3 separate regions of the Homo sapiens genome follow, and regions 2 and 3 are each linked to region 1. The links are contacts of gene promoters, found by promoter capture Hi-C in human tissues and cell types (Jung and others, 2019). All regions are on one chromosome and are shown on one strand. Each heading gives the region's core, a stretch centred on a gene start or on the middle of the fragment in contact. The rest is flanking DNA. Distances are from core to core; before and after follow the strand shown.

What was found. Contacts are between HindIII fragments. The study calls those that stand out against the background at their distance.
Region 2: a contact is called between a fragment that was not itself captured here and the fragment with the promoter of PTPN13 in region 1, in 1 of the 25 tissues and cell types used here (hippocampus).
Region 3: a contact is called between a fragment that was not itself captured here and the fragment with the promoter of PTPN13 in region 1, in 1 of the 25 tissues and cell types used here (hippocampus).

The regions. Positions count from the first base shown.
Region 1 is chr4:86,592,654-86,595,584 of GRCh38, forward strand. PTPN13 (protein tyrosine phosphatase non-receptor type 13) reads left to right here and starts at 1,662. Exons shown (of 48, transcript NM_080683.3): 1 at 1,662-2,136. It also overlaps a transcript of MAPK10 not described here. RefSeq lists an enhancer at 1,313-1,899. The HindIII fragment of the contact is 10,688 bases long and covers 1-2,931 here.
Region 2 is chr4:87,014,020-87,016,719 of GRCh38, forward strand. All of the region lies in intron 2 of AFF1 (ALF transcription elongation factor 1), which reads left to right. Among named protein-coding and RNA genes, the nearest start is that of AFF1, 80 kb to the left of the region's middle. The HindIII fragment of the contact is 6,307 bases long and covers 1-2,700 here.
Region 3 is chr4:87,077,965-87,081,016 of GRCh38, forward strand. All of the region lies in intron 4 of AFF1 (ALF transcription elongation factor 1), which reads left to right. Among named protein-coding and RNA genes, the nearest start is that of KLHL8, 140 kb to the right of the region's middle. The HindIII fragment of the contact is 9,071 bases long and covers 1-3,052 here.

The DNA of each region.
Region 1 (2,931 bases), core at 412-2,911:
AAGGGCTCCAATCATCCACTTGTGTTTCCCATCCAAGGAGCCTGGCCTGTTATTTACTTTCACCACTTATCCCTGCTGCTGCTGTTTAGTTTTTGTTGTTCCCCTCAACTGACTTTCCTCATCTTTGCTGCATTCATCAAAGCCCAGTGTAAATTCCCCTCTTCCATAAACTGAGGAATCCAGCCCATTTTACATAGCAAACTTTCTCTTAGCTGCTACCTACTCAAAGTTTGGCTGCACATTTTAGCTATAATTGTTCTCAAATTGTTTCAAGAGTGCTAGTTTTCTTTCTTAGGCTCCAGGTTAGCTCCTTGGGAGCGGGGACTTAGCTTAAAATCCTGCTGTGTATTTTCCGTTGTGTTTAGCCCTATGAGTAATCACATTCAATGCATACTTGTAAGGCATATTTGACTGAAGATATCTATCATAGTTATTCATTTAGTAAATGATATAATGAAAACTCAAGTGCTCGCCAAAGATAAATCATTACTATTAATTCCCTCATTCATCATACATGTATGGCAGCCTCAGGGGCTAGGGAACCTAGGATTGCTGCTTTGACTTTTTTTGGGGAAGCCAAATAAGCCTCAGATCTCTCCACTTTGGAGCCAGCCATGAAATTCAGATTTACCTAGGGCTCAACATTAAGGGTCTCAGACTAAATTTATCTTCAGGTACCCTTTCCAGAGTGGACCAGTTTACCTTATACCTCTGAGAATAACCCAAAACTTTCAAAACTCAAATCACAGGATATTATTTGTTCATGAATTCAGCAAGACTCTCTTGTTTAACTATTGAAACTCAAATATTTCGGCTTGCAGCAAGGAGGGGTACAGCTGTCTGGATATACCTTGGCCAAATTTCAGTGTATATAGAAAAGTGGGAGGTTATCGACTATGTTAAACCTTTTCCTTAAATTTTCAAACTTCGGGATTATTTTAGTCTCATAGATAAAATAACAAGGCAAGTATTTACAAACTTTTTTCAAAAATATGAGAATTTCAGTTTTCCCTAGGGCATTTGGCGTTGTGCTGTCACCACACTTTTGAAGATAGCTTTACAACCGTGGGAAAACTCACCGGGCTTTTTTCGTTGACCCCGCCATTTCTAAGTTGCTATATTGCTGCAAGGAGCTGGCAAAGCCATGCTCTTCCTCTCCCCCATTCTCCTCTTCCTTTCAAAGACCAAAGCGCCCCGTGAGAATATAGAAACAAGGCTGAGAGGCAGCGAAGAGTAAGGGAGGAGCCAGCACTTACGCATTTTTCACTCTCCTCCTCACTCCCTAGGGTCATAGTTTTGATTCTGAAGTTAGAAGTGTGGGGGTCGTCGGCTGCATTTTCAACTTGGCCTAAAAGTTGGAGTTCACCACACTGCAGGCGCTAGGAACTCTGCCGCTCGGTCACCAACCTGAGCCTCTGGCTAGTCCGAAGAACGCGAAAAGCCAGGCCCAAGGCACTGGTTGTCATGGCAACCGGGGCGCTGGTCTCCCTGGCGACCTCGTCCCTAGGGAGGAGGTGGAGCTGGATGCCAGGCGGGCCAATGAGGTCGAGGGGAGCTCGGGGTGGGAGATCTGCGGTCCTCCCAGTGCCGGGGAATGGTTGAGTGACAGGACCGGGGGGGCGGAGCCGGCGCGGCTGCCCGAGGTGGAGCCCCAGTGGTGCGAGTAGCTCCAGCGGCCACGCTGAGGCGAGGGTGACACACCATGCTCACGGCCCCTGGAGACCGTCGTGCTGGCGAGCCGTGCTCCGTAGCTCCCCGGTCCGCCTCGGCAGCGGTCAGAGTCGCCTACAGGAGTTGAGCCGCCCGCGCCAGAAGGTTTTGGCGAAGCTCTTGGAGAGGCGTCGAGCACAGTAGGGCGGCGGGGGTGCGTTGAGCGCTCGGGGGTCAGGCAGTCGGCCGGGATCGCCGCTGGGGAGCGTTTCCGAGGCGAGGAGGAGGAGGAGGAGATGCTGCTCCTCTTCTCCCCCTCCCCAGGCTCCTTCTACAGCTCCTTCAGCCCACGCCCGCAGCCGCTTGTGGGAGAAGTGGTGGTGGCTCTCGGCGCCCGCGGCGGCTGCCGGCGGCCCGCCCCGACGCCGCGTCCCTGCAGCCCTCGCCCGGCGCTCCAGTAGCAGGACCCGGTCTCGGGACCAGCCGGTAAGGACGAGAGCCGCCCTGGGCTCTGCGCTGCATGTGCAGAAGTGCAAAACAAAGTACATTGCGCTCGTTCTCTTCCTCCTCTCTCTGCTTTCGCTCCAGTCCCTAAACCCAACTCCTCGGTTGCCCTGGTAGAAGGAACTTTTCTTTGGTTTTGGTGGTGGGTGTTTTTGTACGTTAGAGTGGGGGTGGGGTGACTGGAGTGGGGAAGAATGAGATGAAACTCCATTGCTAATTAGGTAGATCCATCTCCTCTGCGGAAGAAAGCCGGATTCTCGGGAATGAAACCCACAGGGGGAGTAAGAGATTGTGGGGTAATAGGGAGTGACATTGCCCCGTCGTGCTTGCACAGCTCCGCTCTGTGCGTGCTTAAGGGAAGGGCTCCCGGAGTCTGTTTCTAATTTCTGCAAATGATTGTGGAGATGGTGTGGTTAGAGGCCGCCCAGAAGAATGTGTGTGTAAGGGCTCGAGAAGGGGGTGGGATGGCGGGGAAGCAGAGGAAGAGGGGGCAGAGGGAGAGACACTGTCTGATGCAAGGTCTTTTATTGCTTTTCTTCTGCTTGCTAAAGTTAACACTCTACCCTCCGGCCCCCTAGCCCCACCGCTTTGCTCATTACGTGATACTGTAAGAGCAGACAGCTGGGAAGCTAAAGTTAAACCAAAGTCAAGAAAATTCTTACAAAGTTTAATTTCCTTCTGTTGTGAATATAATGGAGAGAGGAGGATGGGGAGAAATATCACTAAGAGATTTACAGCAATACAGTTTTCATTGGCCATACACGTATATGATCGACA
Region 2 (2,700 bases), core at 1-2,500, 420 kb after region 1:
CCTATTGAAACAGACTGGAGGTTGGTAGAGAAGGTGGATATCTACGTCCATAAAATTTATCCTTATATTACAAACTGTTGGTTGAAATATCCAAATGCGTCTGTGTTAAAAAAAAAATTAAAAGATACCAAGAAGCAATTCCCAGTGTTTGATCATACAGCACCTTCCCAAGAATTGTTTCTTCTCAAGGAGCAGGGTATTTAATTTACTTTTTTCCATGCGTTGTGGGCTCCCTCCCCAGTTAGAGTTAACTGCTAAGTATCTCTCTCTCTACCACACACAGCCCAGTTTACCAGGTGGCAGTTGTTTTTGTTCCCAGGGAAAAGTTAAAATGGTGTGAATTGGTCAGTTTTGTCCAAACTTTGTGAAACCGAAATGAAAGTTTTGTTTTTTAAGAAAAGCTTTGCCTAGGGGTACTGCTGAACAAATAATGTTCAACAAGACATTTTAAATGGAACTCCTACTGGGAAGTAAATGTTAAAATTATAGCAGATGTCACTTCCTGTAACAAAATTCAGGAAACAGTCTTTGGTATGTGGGTGTTGTAACTTTTCAATTTTTGGAACTTTCCTTCAGGAAACTGTCCTGTCAGAAGCAAAGCAGTCAATAAAATATGAAGCACAACTTAAACTATGTTATACAGTGTAATTAAATTTTGATTTGGTGCATATGTTTTTGTGGTCAAGACAGACCCAAGATTATCACGTGACTTTCATCCTGGATAATGTAAGTCTGGATAACTTGTTAAATTGCTTCTCCCCCACTTCTCCCATTCTGGTTACTTTAAAAATACAGGTGTATCTGATTTACTCTGGACTTGAATTTATGGAAAGTGGTATAAAATTAATTAGTTCTCATTGTTTTGTACAAAACTATGAAACCTGTTTCCTCCCTAGCTTTGCAGAAATTTTGTCTCAATTGACAAACTGTCTACCTTAGACATTTCTAAGATGGCCTATTTAGTAAGTTGGTAGCTTTGAGCTTTGATAAAAGTTTGAGTCCATGATATTATGGTTTAAGAAAATTTTTCCTTAAAGGAAAACAGAACGTGTTATTGAGTTAATATTGCTGGGTTTTAGTTGTTGTTTATTTGCTGAAAGGATAGTCATTGGTATAAAGTAAGCTAAAGCTCTGTCCTTTTATATTTTTTCAGGTAATTTTGACCTAGCAATTACAGCTATAGGAATGTTTTCCTGTTACTCATTTACAGTCTGTGTCTCCCTCTCCCCTCCAGCCTCCTTTTAGAGTTAAGACGGTGCTAACTCTCCATTTAAAAAAGTGTGTAAAAAATAAACTTTGTACCACAGGGGAAAAATTAGGCAGTAACATTTACTGGCATTAGAATAGCAAAAGGATAAAATGAAACCTAGTGTATTACCTTAATACATAATTGAGGTTTTGCAACCTAAAAATATTGGAAAGAATTATTAATGTTGTTCAGATTGTCTGCTTATCTTGTGACTTGGTTTTAGTAAAATTCAAAGTGCCACTGGAACTTAGTTTTTGTTTTTAAATGGGAACTATGCCCAGAAGATGAAAAGTCCTAGGTTGGCAGTTAGATTGAATTTGATAATTCTGTCACTGCTGATGGTGTGAGTTTTTTATTTGTTCTTACCCTTAGGGCAGGGAGGGGCCTCCTCTTAAAAACACCTTCATTTCTTTCTTATTTTAGCAGTCATGTTTCTTTAAGGGTAAAGTAAAAATCATTAGGTTTACTTAATTCTGAGTTTAAATTTGTAGGCTTTATAAAAATTCTTGACAGTTTATGATAAGCCTAGCATAAAACTTCGTTTTCTCTCTGAGGTCACTCGTATTCTGTGTTGACATCCTTAAAGTATTGGTATTATCCATGATCTTAGAGTGTTTTAAAGAATGAAGAAGTCGGGCGTGGTCGCTCATGCCTGTAATCCCAGCACTCTGGGAGGCCCAGGCAGGCGGATCACCTGAGGTCAGGAGTTTGAGAGCAGCCTGGTCAACATGGTGAAACCTCGTCTCTACTAAAAATACAAACATTAGCTGGGCGTAGTGGCAGGTGCCTGTAATCCCAGCTACTCGGGAGGCTGAGGCAGGAGAATTGCTTGAACTCGGGAGGTGGAGGTTGCAGTTAGCCAAGATCATGCCGTTGCACTCCAGCCTGGGCGATCTTTTGGTAGCTTGGTGTAAATGACCTTTTGTGGGGAAAGAGGGAAGAGGGGAATAGTTAAATTGAATCGAGGTACGTTCCTTGTCACCCAGATCTTTTATATCTTTTGTTATATCTCATTTTATGGGTATTTCTTCCCAGCCCAAGTTTTTGTAAAAGTGATTTTATTCGAGGTCAGGAGATCAAGACCATCCTGACTAACACAGTGAAACCCCGTCTCTACTGAAAATACAAAAAAATTAGCCAGACGTGGTGGCGGGCGCCTGTAGTCCCAGCTACTCGGGAGACTGAGGCAGGAGAATGGCATAAACCTGGGAGGGCGGAGCTTGCAGTGAGCGGAGATTGCGCCACTGCACTCCAGCCTGGGTGACAGAGTCAGACTCTGTCTCAAAAAAAAAAAAAAAGTGATTTTATTGAAGTCTATTTTATATATCATAAAATTCACTCATGTCAAGTGACAACTCAGTAATGTTTAGTTACTTTACTGAATGGAGCGACCAGTTTTAGAACATTTTATCCCATACCTGGTAAGATCCCTCCTGCCCATTTACAGTTAA
Region 3 (3,052 bases), core at 249-2,748, 490 kb after region 1:
TTTTTGTACATGTAGGAGGCAGTGCTAAAGGTTAGAGAAGTGTCTGTGTAATTAGAATTTGCTGACTATTGCCAAATTAATGTCCTTAAAGGTTGTAGCACTTAATCCTCCTACCAATCATGGGATTTGAGTGCCTATTTCCCCATGTCTATCTCATAGATGGAGTATTGTTAATCTTGTGGCTGTTTGCCAATCTACGTGTGAAAAGTAGTTTCTCAGTAGTTGTAATGTTTCCAGGGAGAAAACAATGCAAAACAATTATCTTTTTGTCTCTTTTATGTTTATTTACATGTAGTTTAGTTTGTTAATTAAGGTGTTGCTTTATAATTCAGGCAGCCTGCATCTTCTTAAGTGTCTAAAGCCATAAGAGAAACTTAGTTTCAAATTCTGAGTTCCGGGACTGAAAACATGCCAGCCATTGTTTATGGGGTTGCCTCTGTGTGGCTGGCACCCTGTGATTCAGTGAGGGTTCTGGCCCTAACTTCCATGGAACATATTATCTAGAGGGAGTAGAGAGGATGCAATAACAGAGAATGTACGGATAGTTACGGGAGCATCTGCAAGAGAACCTGGACAGTTTTGGGAGTAAGGGAGCATCAGGGATGTTTTCCAAAAGATGTCTTTCATCTGCAACCTGAAGCTTTAGTAGGAATTATCCCTGACACAGATGGAAGAGAGAAGAGGGCTCCAGATCGGGGCAAGAAAAGTGTGACTTATCTAACTAGCGAGTTGGGGGTAGATGAGCAGCAAATAGTGAAGACTGAACAGTAATCCAAAAGGTGGTGACACATTTGAAGAAAAATAGCTTGGACATTTATTTTACTCTCTTAAAAATTAAACTTTGGATAGATAACCTATTGGGATTTTTTTTTTAAGCTGTCATGCTGTTAAAGAATGCCTTGATAATGTTGGCACCGCCTGTTATTCCATATATCAGTGCCTTTTGATGGTTTTGAAAGTGTGTTTTATTAGATATGTTTTAATATGAAAACATATTTGACCTTCATACCAACCCTGAGAAGTGGTTAGGTTTGGTAATACTATACCTTCTCACAATGAGGAAATAGTCCCAAAGAGGATGAATCTTATCCAAGATTCAGCGCCAGTCTTCAGCAGAGCCAGATCTAGAATCCAAGATCTTTTGGCTTCCCTCGTCAGCACATTGCCTTTGTGCTCTCTCTATTTCCTGGTTAGTGATAAGTAAGCCTTTTTGAGAATAGCATTGTTATAAAAATGCCGCTCTGTTGAAACTTGAGAGACTTAAAACACAATATTGCAAGAGCCTCCCAGTCTCAGTGGCATGTTTCTTCAGCCAGCTCTTTTTAGCTTATTAAAACAAACTGTCATGCTTAGAAGACATTCACTCACATATTTTATTTTGGTATCAGTGCGTTTCCTTACAGTTACACAATGTCATTCCAGGAGGAGTGAGAAATCAGGCCACGGCCAGCATTGCTGCCTTTTCTGGTCCGAAGCACTGGTAGTAGGAAGAGGCAGTTAAATGTGAATACCAAAATGCTTCTTTGTAGAAGCAAAGGAAAAACGTAGCTCTTGAAAAAATGTTTTAGGTTATGCATAGGACAACTGGAATCACACACCCTCCTAAAATGCTAATATATTTGTTTCTTGCAGCAGTGTTGAGGTTTTTAGAAAACTGGTATAACAGTATTCTGAGCCAGCTCAGCTGCTTCAGAGCTTTTGTGTGTCCTTGCATAGACAACTTAATTTCTCTAGGATTCAGTCTCCTCGTTTTATTTTTAAAATTATTTTATTTGTAAATACCTCATCGTGGACTCCAAAAGCATGTCTCCTCGTTTTAAAAACTGGCATAATACCTACCACAAAGGTTGATGTGAGAATTAAATAGAGCTTTATACAGAATTCCCTCAGGCATTTTTAAGTTTATGTAATAGGGATGTATCTTACAGTTGATGGGTACATTTAGTGTAGTCCCCCTACCTCCCAAGCTAATAATGGTGCGTCGTACAATTGATGGTACCAAATTGAGGTGATAATAACATAGAAAGAGTTTAATGCAACGTGAAGTACAAAATGCATTCAATAAGTAGCTGCTATCATTTTTTTAAAAATTAAATATGGCTGCTTGTTAAGGCCATATCCCAGGAGGAAAGTGTGGTCTCTGCTGGGAGGTTGGTCTACATACAGGAAGCCAGATGTGTGAGATGGCTCTAGATAGGCAGAAGGGGAGAGCTCGTGCCCTCTAGGAACCTATTAATAGATATCAAGGGTGGGAAAAGGCAGTGTTTTGTGGTCATGTTAAAGTCAGTGTCTATACCATTGAGGAAAGAGCTAGCCAGAGAAGGACTTACAAACTAGATTTTCTTGATTCATGCAACTATCATAGAAATGTTTATTGTTGCTTTTTGTCATTTTGTGTTCTTTAAGGACGTTGTACATTGAATGTCTTCAGCCTTATCTCAGTTGTGGCTTAGAGAGAGCTGGCCAGGACCAATTGTTTATTCTTTGACCATGGTGTTAAAGGGAGAGTCTGGCTCCTTTTAGTAGGAGTAGCAGTATTTGGCTGGAGACCCTATTGGGAGAGTGGATTTTAGGAAAGGGGTTAAGAGCCAGGTGCAGTGTCACACACCTGTAGTTCCAGCTACTCTCTGAAGGCTGAGGTAGGAGGATGACTTGAGCCCAGGCCAGCCTGGGCACCATAGCAAGACCCCATCTCTGTAAAAGAAGGGGATTAGGGGATTAGGATGTAACGGTTTAACTGCTCCCCTTTTGGAAAACCTCCTTCCAGTGGCATGCTTGGAGGTGCCAAGTTGCACTTTATGAGACGAGGCAGCCTGTCCTTGTAGATCTTTCCCTGTAAACAAATCCAAAAGATCTGTCTTGTAGTTTAAGTGTCTCTAATTAGGGTGGCGAGAAGAGTGAAGATGTGAGTCTCAGGTAGATGGAACATAAAATGATCTCATACTATGCAAACTTTTCAGTAGCCTCTCTTTTAAATGTAGGTTTACAATGTGTTTTGGTATACACAAAAGTATTTAGGGATAAAGGGACATTAACTCTCTAACTTACTCTT